Regions from separate parts of the Homo sapiens genome. Here all the other regions are linked to region 2. The links are contacts of gene promoters, found by promoter capture Hi-C in human tissues and cell types (Jung and others, 2019). All regions are on one chromosome and are shown on one strand. The core of a region is centred on a gene start or on the middle of the fragment in contact, and the rest is flanking DNA. Distances in the headings are between cores, read along the strand shown. Region 1 holds the start of GPATCH1 (G-patch domain containing 1). Region 2 holds the start of NUDT19 (nudix hydrolase 19). Region 3 overlaps ZNF507 (zinc finger protein 507). Region 4 overlaps CEP89 (centrosomal protein 89).

Evidence for each region. Contacts are between HindIII fragments. The study calls those that stand out against the background at their distance.
Region 1: the fragment with the promoter of GPATCH1 here is called in contact with the fragment with the promoter of NUDT19 in region 2 in 4 of the 25 tissues and cell types used here (H1 embryonic stem cells, heart left ventricle, mesendoderm cells and 1 more).
Region 3: a fragment that was not itself captured here is called in contact with the fragment with the promoter of NUDT19 in region 2 in 1 of the 25 tissues and cell types used here (dorsolateral prefrontal cortex).
Region 4: a fragment that was not itself captured here is called in contact with the fragment with the promoter of NUDT19 in region 2 in 1 of the 25 tissues and cell types used here (H1 embryonic stem cells).

Annotation. Positions count from the first base shown.
Region 1 is chr19:33,079,735-33,082,434 of GRCh38, reverse strand. It overlaps GPATCH1 (G-patch domain containing 1), which reads right to left and starts at 1,254. Exons shown (of 20, transcript NM_018025.3): 1 at 1,169-1,254. The coding sequence starts at 1,241. RefSeq lists an enhancer at 1,030-1,359. The HindIII fragment of the contact is 22,582 bases long and covers 1-2,700 here.
Region 2 is chr19:32,690,519-32,693,218 of GRCh38, reverse strand. NUDT19 (nudix hydrolase 19) reads right to left here and starts at 1,398. Exons shown (of 3, transcript NM_001105570.2): 1 at 545-1,398. The coding sequence starts at 1,258. It overlaps NUDT19-DT (NUDT19 divergent transcript), which reads left to right and starts at 923. Exons shown (of 2, transcript NR_186320.1): 1 at 923-1,856. It overlaps LOC124904690 (a long non-coding RNA gene), which reads left to right. Exons shown (of 2, transcript XR_007067226.1): 2 at 1-254. RefSeq lists a silencer at 1,026-1,435. The HindIII fragment of the contact is 18,784 bases long and covers 1-2,700 here.
Region 3 is chr19:32,360,558-32,363,257 of GRCh38, reverse strand. It overlaps ZNF507 (zinc finger protein 507), which reads right to left. Exons shown (of 7, transcript NM_001136156.2): 5 at 2,640-2,700. Among named protein-coding and RNA genes, the nearest start is that of ZNF507, 16 kb to the right of the region's middle. The HindIII fragment of the contact is 4,607 bases long and covers 1-2,700 here.
Region 4 is chr19:32,953,994-32,956,693 of GRCh38, reverse strand. All of the region lies in intron 3 of CEP89 (centrosomal protein 89), which reads left to right. Among named protein-coding and RNA genes, the nearest start is that of CEP89, 17 kb to the left of the region's middle. The HindIII fragment of the contact is 8,520 bases long and covers 1-2,700 here.

The sequences.
Region 1 (2,700 bases), core at 5-2,504, 390 kb before region 2:
GCAGGATGTGGTCAGGGTGAAAAAAGGGAGGGGACCCCCACCAACAGGAGGTCTGCAAATAAATTGTGGCCCAATGATTCCACCATTCTTCCTCTGCCTTCCCTACAGGGCTAGCACAGCCAACAGCCCTTACTGGACACTCAATACATAACTTGCTGAACAAGTCAAGTCGTTAAGTGGAACAGACCAGAAACACAGGAGAGAACCTTGATTCATCTTGCCCCTCACCCCCACATTCCACCAGCAAGTATGGTCAGCTCTGCTTTCAAAATATATCTCCACCCAGACCACTACACACCACCACCACTGCTGTCCCATCCATGCCACCATCATCTCCTGACCTCTTTTTGCTAATCTCCCTGCTTCACTCTTACCCATCCCCAACCAGTGTATTCTCAACATCAAAGATAGAATAACATTAAAAATTGGCCGAGCACAGTGGCTCAAGCCTGTAATCCCTGCACTTTGGGAGGCAGAAGCGAGAGGATCACTTGAAGTCAGGAGTTCAAGACCAGCCTGGGAAACAGAGCAAAACCCTGTCTCTAAAAATCATATATATATCCCTCCCTGTGTAATTTCCCATGACCCTAACCCTAACCCTAATCCTGCACTTAGTACAAGATCCAAACTCTTTACCCTACCAAGTAAGATCCAGCCCCTGTCAGCCCCTCTGACATTCTTTTCTACCTGTCTCCCCCGCTGTCATCTGCTGCAACCATACCCGTCCTGCCTGCCCCTCAATTTCCTAAACTGGCTCCCACTTCAGGGCCTTTGCCACTTTATGTTCCTTCTGCCTGAAATGCTTTCCCTCCAGATTTGCTCATGGTTGTTTTCTTCCTCGGTTTCAAGTCTGAGCTCAAACGTCCTCTCTCGGGGAAGACACTGCCTGAGCACCCCCCGCTCTCACACTAGCTATTCCGTCATTTTCTTGTTTCTATCTCGCCGCCCCCTTGTTCGGCCACGCTTGTGTCTCCCGTCCCTGTAAACCTCTCTCTGTCGCTGCAGAAGGTGAGCACCCCGAGAGCGCGGCTAACGCCTCCCTCGTCGCCGTGTTCCCAGCGCTGGGAACGATCTAACAATGGTCCAGCACCGACTTGTGCTTTTGTGGCCCGAATCCTGGGCCCTTGGCCTGTTTTCCACAGGCTCCGCCGGCCCACGCGGCCCGCACCTTCTTCCAGAGGCTCCAGCCCGGTCCCATAGCTGACCAGATCTTCTTCGCTGTCACTGTCCCGCGCCGCCATCCTGCTCTTCCGGGCCCCGCCCCCTCGCTACGGCGGCCTTGGCAGGCCAAACGCCTTTCCTCTTTCTCCTCCGCGAACCCCGGTGATGCTGGAAGGCTGGGTCCGCGGGCGGGGGAAGGTGTCCTAGCGGCCCGAGCCTGCGCTCCGGATTCTCAGGCCCATCCTGTGGTAGGCCGTCCCAGGCAGGAGTTGCCTCGGAGGATTTGGCAGCCACGACATCCCATCCTAGCCCCGCGATGTGCGGGTGAGGAGGAGACTCCTGGCATAAGCTGGAAGCCACCCAACTGTTCCCTGCGAGGCGACACCGATGCCTGCCCAGCCCCCTACCCCCGTCCCTCGCGCCAGCCCCCTGCCTTGGCAGCAGTCACTGCCCAGCCCCGTCCACTCCCACCGCCCACCCAGCCACCTCCAGGGAAATGGCTGAGCTCCCAGATTTCATGCTCGCCCCGTGGGGCTTCGCTTTATTTTTATTATTATTATTTTTTACTTTTATTTTGGGTTCAGGGGTACATGTGCAAGTTTGTTATATAGGTAAATTGCATGTCGCAAGGGATTTGGGTTACAGATTATTTCCTCCCCAGGTAATAAGCATAGTACCCAATAGGTAGTTTTTCCGATCCTCACCCTCCTCGTACCTTCCACCCTCAAGTAGGTCCACCCTCAAGTAGGCCCTGGTGTTATTCCCTTTTTTTTTTTTTTTTTTTTTGAGACAGAGTCTCGCTCTGTCGCCCAGGCTGGAGTGCAGTGGCCGCGATCTCAGCTCACTGCAACCTCCGCCTCCCAGATTCAAGTGATTCTCCTGCCTCAGCCTCCTGATAGCTGGGATTATAAGCGTCCACCCCACCACGCCCTGCTAAATTTTTGTTTGTTTGGTTGGTTGGTTGTTGTGGTGGTTTTTTTTTTTTTTTTCTTGAGACAGAGTTTCACTCTTGTTGCCCAGGCTGGAGTGCAATGGCACGATCTCGGCTCACCTCAACCTCCGCCTCCCGGGTTCAAGCGATTCTCCTGCCTCAGCCTCCCTAGTAGGTGGGATTACAGGCATGCACCACTATGTCTGGCTAATTTTGTAATTTTTTTTTTAGTAGAGACGGGGTTTGTCCATGTTGGTCAGGCTGGTCTCGAACTCCCCACCTCAGGCGATCCATCCACCTTGGCCTCCCAAAGTGCTGGGATTACAGATGTGAGCCACCGCACCCGGCCATTTTTTTTTTTTTTTTTTTTTTTTTTTGTATTTTTAGTAGAGACTGGGTTTCACCATGTTGGCCAGGCTGGTCTTGAACTCCTGACCTCAAGTGATCCACCCGCCTCGGCCTCCCAAAATGCTGGTATTACAGGCGTGAGCCACTGCGCCTGGCACCTGTCATTCCCTTCTTTATGTCCATGTGTGCTCAATGTTTAGCTCCCACTTATACGTGAGAACATGCAGTATTTGGTTTTCTGTTCCTGCATTAGTTTGTTT
Region 2 (2,700 bases), core at 149-2,648:
GAAACTGGACACACCATCTTTAAGAACTGTAACACTCACTTCGAGGGTCCGCGGCTTTATTCTTAAAGTCAGCGAGACCAAGAACCCACTGGAAGGAACCAATTCTGGACACACCAGGAGCTGGAGACGAGCCTGGGTGTGCAACACAGAGAGACAAGACCCCCATCTGTACCAAAAATAAATAAAAATAGGAAGACTGGATCATATTAAGTCTGTTCTCCAAGAAAACCAAATTAAACGGCTGTGGAGATGTACTATGTCTACACATGTACAAGTGCTTACACAGTGGCCACGCTGGAGGAACCACGTGGAGAGACAGGCTCCAGGCCTTGAGACCCCAAAGCCTAGGAAAGCAGAGAGCACTTCACCAAGAGCATGGCTTTGGTCTACAGGGGTGAGAGTTTCCAGCCCGTCTAAGCGTTCCTTGCTGCTTAATCTCTCTGGGCTTGGCCTATGCGGGGGTCCCTTGGGGGCCTGGGCCGCTGGGAGGGGTCCTCCCTCTCACGTCCTGGCGGTCCGCAGCAAGGCCCTGAGCAGGCCTTACCTGGTAGCCCACCACCTCCGCCAAGTCGGGGTAGACGGGCGGCGGCTCGCGCAGGCAGCACAGGAAGAAGGCCGTGTCAAAGCGGCGAGTGGTGCCCCGCAAGAAAGGGGTGAGCCAGGCGCTCCAGTTGTGCAGCGCCCAGATGTCGGGTGTGCAGTCGAGGTGGGCGCACAGCCGCAGGAAGTGGCGCGGGTCCTGGCGCACGCGGTCGCGCCAGGAGGCCAGGCCCGGCGGTGGCTCCAGGGCGAGGCCAGGCCCGGGTGCTGGGCCTGGTGGGGAAGTCCTGGGCCGCAGCAGCAGCACGCCCGCCTCCTCAAAGGCCTCCCGCACGGCGCAGATGCGGAAGGCTACGTCCTCAGGCAGCGTCCCAGTGTTGTCGGTCTTGTGGTCATCGGTGTCGGGCAGCGACGGGAAAGCGGTGCGGCTGAATGGCGCCGGGCCCAGGCCGAAGCGCGGCGGCCCGTGGTGCGGCGCGAAGAGGCCCAGCCAGTCCGCCGAGCGGTCGGCCGCATCCAGCACTCCGCCGGAGAAGACGTGCGCGCCCGGCATGAAGCCTTGGTGCGGGGAGCGCTGCAGCAGCAGCAGCCGGAAGCCCTCGGCCGGCGGCGGGCGCGACGGCGGGGTGGCGGTCTCCGGGCGCGACCAGCCAGCCGCCAGGACGATGCTGGCCGCCCGCCGCCAGCGGCTGGGGCCCGGCCGCAGGGAGCTGCTCATGGCGCGCAGCTTCCCGGATCCGATTCTGGCGCGGCCTGAGCTCCACGGCAGGTGGCCCGGCCCTGCAGGGACCCCAGCACCTCCGGGGGCCTCGCGGGAATTGAGGACGAGCCTCTGGCGTTGGGTGAACCTGGGCGTTTGGTCGGCAACGGCGCCTGCCTGTGGGAGGGGCACCCGAGCAGGGACCGCCTCGAGTGCACTGGGGCCCAGCTAGGGCACTCTCGCGGGACAATGGGTGTCACGGCAGCCAGCGACCGTTTGTCATTCACAGCTGCCTGAAAGGAGGACCGCAGTATTCCCACGCAGGAAGCTTGGACCAAAAGCAGGAATGCTTAAGGGCGCATATGACTTGCCATGGTAAAAAACAGGATGCCAACCCAGGCCTGATGACATCCACCTCACTAAAAGCTAAGGACTAGGACTTTCTGCTTTAAACAAGGACCCACATGTGGGTGTTTTCTGTGGGAGAGGGAGAGAGGACATTCGAAGGGCAGAAGTCTGACCTTTGCAAGCACACGTGAACCACACCAATGAGAAATGAATGGACGAGCCAGATGCCAATTTATAAATTTCCTACTGCACACCTTGAATGTGAAAGGTACTCCCAGAGTAATTTCTCTCGTGTTCTGGTTACCTTTTATTGTCAGGGCGCCTGGGGACGGCCTTAGGTGTCTTAGGACATTTGACGAGTTCCACTTTGATGGGAGATGTTTAATCTGGGCCTCCACATGGAGATTTCTCTCCACCTTGTTAGTGTCTAGAAGACTTCCACCTCCAATAGCAGGATTATGATCTTTTGAAAAGCCTGTGTAAATTTGAGTCTTTTCTTTTATAACTCCTTATCAGTCACCGACAGCTTTTCCCATAATTGCTATTATAATTGGATCACACATTTGTTATGTTTTTGGATGAAATACACTATACCCCTGCCGACCCTCACAAACCATCATTTTAATGTGGGTTATTTCCTGGGTAGAATCCACAGATGACATTGTCAATATTTAGGGGTTTTGTTTGTTTTTTTGTTTGAAGAGACCTGGTCTCTGGCCAGGCGCTGTGGCTTACACCTGTAATCCCAGCACTTTGGGAGGCCGAGGTGGTCGGATCACCTGAGGCCAGGACTTCAAGACCAGCATGGCCAACATGGCAAAACCCCGCCTCTACTAAAAATACAAAAATTAGCTGGGTGTGGCGGCCCGCGCCTATAGTTGCAGCTACTCAGGAGGCTGAGGCAGGAGAATCACTTGAATCTGGGTGGAGGTTGCTGTGAGCCAAGATCCTGCCACTGCATTCCGGCATGGGTGACAGAGCGAGACTCTGTCTCAAAAAAATAAATAAATAAATAAAATAAAAATACAGAGCAATGGAGAGAAAGGCACTCAGGTGATTAAAGTAACATGTCTTCAATACTAGGAGTAATAATAATCCTAGGGGATAATAAT
Region 3 (2,700 bases), core at 188-2,687, 330 kb after region 2:
TTCTTAACAAAATGTAGGGAATCAGAAATGCATAGGATATGGCATGAACTCTGAGAAACCAAGCCCAAACTCTGACCATAAGTGCACCAGGCAACGAAACTGAATGAAGCAGACATGAAATGAGCCAGAGAAACTCCTGTGATCCTTGAATTAAGTCAGACATTATAAAGGCTACGCTACCAGCTCCGCTTAAAGCACACAGTATAGGACAACGAGGAGAAAGTCCTAGAAACATCCTGGAATAGAACATGTTAATCCGTAATGCTCTGCGACCAGAAATCCCATGAAGGCAAAGGATGGTGAGTATTTAAAGAAAGTTAAAAGGAGAGCCATGACATTAGAAAATAAGACTTATGAGGAAAAACTGATAATAAGTACAAAGAGGGAGATATGACAAAACTGTATCTAAGGCATAACCACACCAAACCCAGTGACAAAGTGGAGTGTGAATAAATTTGGAAAATAACAGACTGAGAGTTCTCTGATGTTACACAAAGAGGATGCTCACGGGATGTTGCCCGTTGGTAGGAAGACCCTAGGACAACTGCAATGAATCCTATGAATCTGTGAATATTTTAAGAACACAAGAAAACATCCCTGAGACACTGACAGCTATCAAAATGAATCTTTAAGCTGCAAGACTGATCTAATAAAGCAGATGTAAAACCTTCAACAGAACTAGAATCGCTAACCTTTTTCCTAAGTATTTGAGGGTTTACTTGCTTATTGTTTGTCTACAAGTTCCATGACAGCAAAGATGACGTCTGTTTTGTTATGACTGTAGTCCAAGAATCTAGCACGGCCCCTGAAGCATAATATTTGCTCAATAAATATTTCTCCATGAATGAAAGAACAATCTAATTCTGGACCCGGAGAAATGTTATTTTCTTCTTACTTAAATCACATGAATCTGGCACGGTATGTCTAAATTCAAGGATACCAAAAATATAAAGGCAAAGCTTTCTCCTCCTATCAGGTAAACTAGTGTTCCCTGTTTCCATCACATTCTCCTAAACATTTCCCAGTATAAATCACGAATGTAAATATACTCAGTCCCACCTATTAAATAGACTGATTGGACATGGTGTAACCATGTAATCCCAGCACTTTGGGAGGCCAAGGTGGGCGGACACTTGAGGCCAGGAGTTCAAGACCTGGCGAAACCCCGTCTCTAATTAGCTAATCATGGCACATGCCTGTGGTCCCAGCTACTTGGGAGGCTGAGGCATGAGAATCACTTGAACCCGGGAGGCGGAGGTTGCCGTGAGGTGAGATCACTCCACTGCACTCCAGCCTGGGTGATGACAGAGCGAGACTCTGTCAAAGAAAAAAAGGAAGGAAGGAAGGAAGGAAGGAGGGAGGGAGGGAGGGAGGGGAGGGAAAGGAAAGGAAGGAAAGGAAGGAAGGAAAGGAAGAAAGGAAAGGAAGAAAGGAAAGGAAGGAAGGAAACGAAGGAAGGAAAGGAAGGAAGGAGGGAGGGAGAGAGGGAGGGAGGGAAGAAAAGGAAAGGAAGGAAAGGAAAGGAAGGAAAGGAAGAAAGGAAAGGAAGGAAGGAAAGGAAGGAAAGGAAGGAAGGAAAGGAAGGAAGGAAGAAAAGAAGGAAGGAAGGAAAGAAGGAAGGAAGGAAGACACTGAGGAGGACTGAGGCAAGGTCAAACACCTTCCACAGAGTTTTAAGACTCTGCAAACAGATGTACTTTCTGAAGAGTGATTATAAGTAAGTCTGCTGGTTTGCAAATTAAGCACATATTAAATATTCGAAACCATACACAGATCACCACACTTTGGGATTAAACAATGACCTTTTATGGCACAATCTGTCAGGTTTTCATTGAGATTAATACAATAACTTTCCCACACTCACTTGTATCATATCTACAGAATCTGGGGAGAGAGTTAAACCTGCTAAGTTTTGACAAGGGGGTGAAAGTTCATGCGCATTGCCTAGCACTATCACTGAGAATGCCTATATTTTCTGAAATATATATCTGAATTTGCTTTTGGGAAAAATCAAGTAATGAAATTAAATGACTTATTCTACACATACTAGCTTAATTTTGAAAAATGGACTCTTTCATAGAAAATTTTATTGCCTTTAAGTTTTAAGGATCTTTTGCTGAATACTGAGTACCTTACTGCCAAATTACTGAAATGAACTCTAAGGCATTGAAAATTGCTATGAAATTTATACCCATATGAAATGAAAACATAAAATTGACAGATAAAGACAATTTCCTATGTATCAACTAGACAAAATGCCTACTGTCCTAAGATTCAAGCTTAAAGTTCACATCTTAACAAATCAAACAAGACATAATACCAGCCAGGTGCAGTGGCTCACGCCTGCAATCCCAGCACTTTGGGAGGCTGATGTGGGAGGATCCCTTGAGGCCAGGAGTTCGAGGCTGCAGTGAGCTGTGATCATACCACTGCACTCCAGCCTGGGCAATACAGCAAGACACTGACTCAAAAAATAAATAAGTAAATATATAAAACAACAAAATATAAAACCAATTAGTGAAAATTTCTTACTTCTTAACCTGTGTTTCAGTAAGTGCTATACATTTTTATTTCATTTTATTTCTTTAATATAAAATATTTTAATACAAACATTAAAATTCTAGAATCATAACACTTACCTGTACGGCTTATCAGAGTTATGGATTCGCCTGTGGTTTCTGACACCAACATATGTTGTAC
Region 4 (2,700 bases), core at 156-2,655, 260 kb before region 2:
ATTTTAGTAATTTCAAATTGGAATGGAAGTCAAGTGTGGTGGTTCACACCTGTAATCCCAGCACTTTGAGAGGCTGAGGTGGGAGGACTGCTTGAGATCAGGAGTTTGAGACCAGCCTGGGCAACAAAGTGAGACCCCCATCTCTACAAAAAAATACAAAAATCATCCTGGCATGGTGTTGCTCACCTGTAGTCCCAGCTGCTTGGGAGGCTGAGGCAGGAGGATCACTTGAGCCCAGGAGGTCAAAGTTGCAGTATGATCTTGTCACTTCACTCCACCCTGGATGACAGAGTGAGACCCTGTCTCAAAAAAAAAAACAAAAATAAAAAAAGAAAAAACAGGCCGGGTGCGGTGGCTCACGCCTGTAATCCCAGCATTTTGGGAGGCCGAGATGGACGGATCACGAGGTCAGCAGATCGAGACCATCCTGGCCAACATGGTGAAACCCTGTCTTTACTAAAAATACAAAAAATTAGCTGGCGTGGTGGCGGGCGCCTGTAGTCCCAGCTACTCAGGAGGCTGAGGCAGGAGAATGGCGTGAACCCGGGAGGTGGAGCTTGCAGTGAGCCAAGATGGAGCCACTGCACTCCAGCCTGGGGGACAGAGCGAGACTCCATCTCAAAAAAAAAAAAAAAAAAAAAAAAGAACCAAATTGGAATGGACATACCAGAAGTAAAACAGACAAAGGACCTGAACACAAGTATATGGAAAAACATTCAGTCTCAGTAACAAATGCAAATTTAGACAGTGGGTTTTAAGTTGTTTTGGCAAGTTTTAGAAAATTATTACCAGTGTATTTATAGCTTGGAGAAATGATTTTGTGCAGTATGTATGTAGACACAAAATGTTCACACCATTTGACTCAAGAATTTACTGTATGGGCCGGACACAGTGGCTCACGCCTGTAACCTCAGCACTTTTTGAGGCTGAGGCGGGCGTATCACTTGAGGTCAGGAGTTCAAGACCAGCCTGGCCAATGTGGTGAAACCCCATGTCTACTAAAAATACAAAAATTAGCCAGGCATGGTGGCAGGCGCCTGTAGTCCCAGCTACTCGGGAGGCTGAGGCAGGAGAATCACTTGAACGCGGGAAGCGGAGGTGGCAGTGCACTGAGATCGCGCCACCACACTCCAGCCTGGGTGACAGAGCGAGACTCCATCTCAAATAAAAAAGATAAAGAAAAAAAGAATTTACTCTATGGCGGTTTGTTTTATGTGAGTAACCTTAAATACAGTAGGGGTTATCTGCACACAGATGTTTATTACAGGGTTATCTACAACAATGGAAAGTGAAGGAAAAAAACCCCACCTAAGCAAGGAAAATGGCTGGTTAAGCTGGTATATCTAGTGGATTCCTACCTTTTAAAATGTTGACTATAAAAACTCATTAATAGGCTGGGGACAGTGGATCATACCTGTAATCCCAACACTTTGGGAGGTTGAGGTGGGTGGATCTCTTCAGCTCTGGAGTTTGAGACCAGCCTGGGCAACATGGTGAAACCCCTTCTCTACTAAAAATACAAATAAACAAACAAACAAAAAATTAGCTGGGTATGGTGGAGTGCATCTCTAGTCCCAGCTACTCGGGAGGCTGAGGTAGGAGGATCACTTGAGCTGGGGAGGTGGATGCTGCAGTAAGCCAAGATTGCACCTCTGCATTCCAGCCTGTGTGGCAGAATGAGACCCTGTCTCAATTTAAAAAATAAAAATACTTATTAATAGCAGGCTGGGGCCAGGCATGGTGGCTCAGGCCTGTAATCCCAGCACTTTGGGAGGCCGAGGTGTGCAGATCATTTGAGGTCAGGAGTTTGAGACCATCCTGGCCAACATGGTGAAACCCCATCTCTACTAAAAATAGAAAAATTAGCCAGGTGTGGTGGCGAGTGCCTGTAATCCCAGCTACTCAGGAGGCTGAGGCAGGAGAATCACTTGAACCCGGGAGGCAGAGGTTGCAGTAAGCCAAGATTGCACTACTATACTCCATCCTGGGTGACAGAGTGAGACTCTGTCTCAAAATAATAATAACAATAATAATAACAACAGGCTGGGCTCAGTGGCTCATGCCTGTAATCCTAGCACTTTAGGAGGCTGAGGCAGGCGGATCCCTTGAGCCAAGGAGTTCAAGACCAGCCTGGACAACATGGTGAAACCCCGTCTCTACAAAAAATACAAAAACTAGCTGGGCTTGGTTAGTCCCAGCTATTGGGAGGCTGAGACTGGAGGATCACCTGAGCCCAGAGAGATTGAGGCTACAGTGAACCATGATTGCACCACTTCACTCCAGCCTGGGAGACAGAGTGAGACCCTGTCTCAAAAAAAAAACAAAAAAACAAAAAACCCTTATTCATAACAAGACAAATTGTATATGTATGCAGTAACTCTAAAAACAGAAACTAGAAGGATATGCCAAGTGTACAAAGAGATGGGACGGTGGAAAATTTAATCTTTTAGCTTCTGTGTACTTTGTAGTATCCCACATTTATGGTAAGGACTTGGAGGCAGTGCATTTAATACATGATACTGGCCGGGCACAGTGGCTCACGCCTGTAATCCCAGCACTTTGGGAGGCCGAGGCGGGCGGATCACGAGGTCAGGAGATCGAGACCACCGTGGCTAACAGGGTGAAACCCCATCTGTACTAAAAATACAAAAAAAAAAATTAGCCAGGCGCGGTGGTGGGCACCTGTAGTCCCAGCTACTC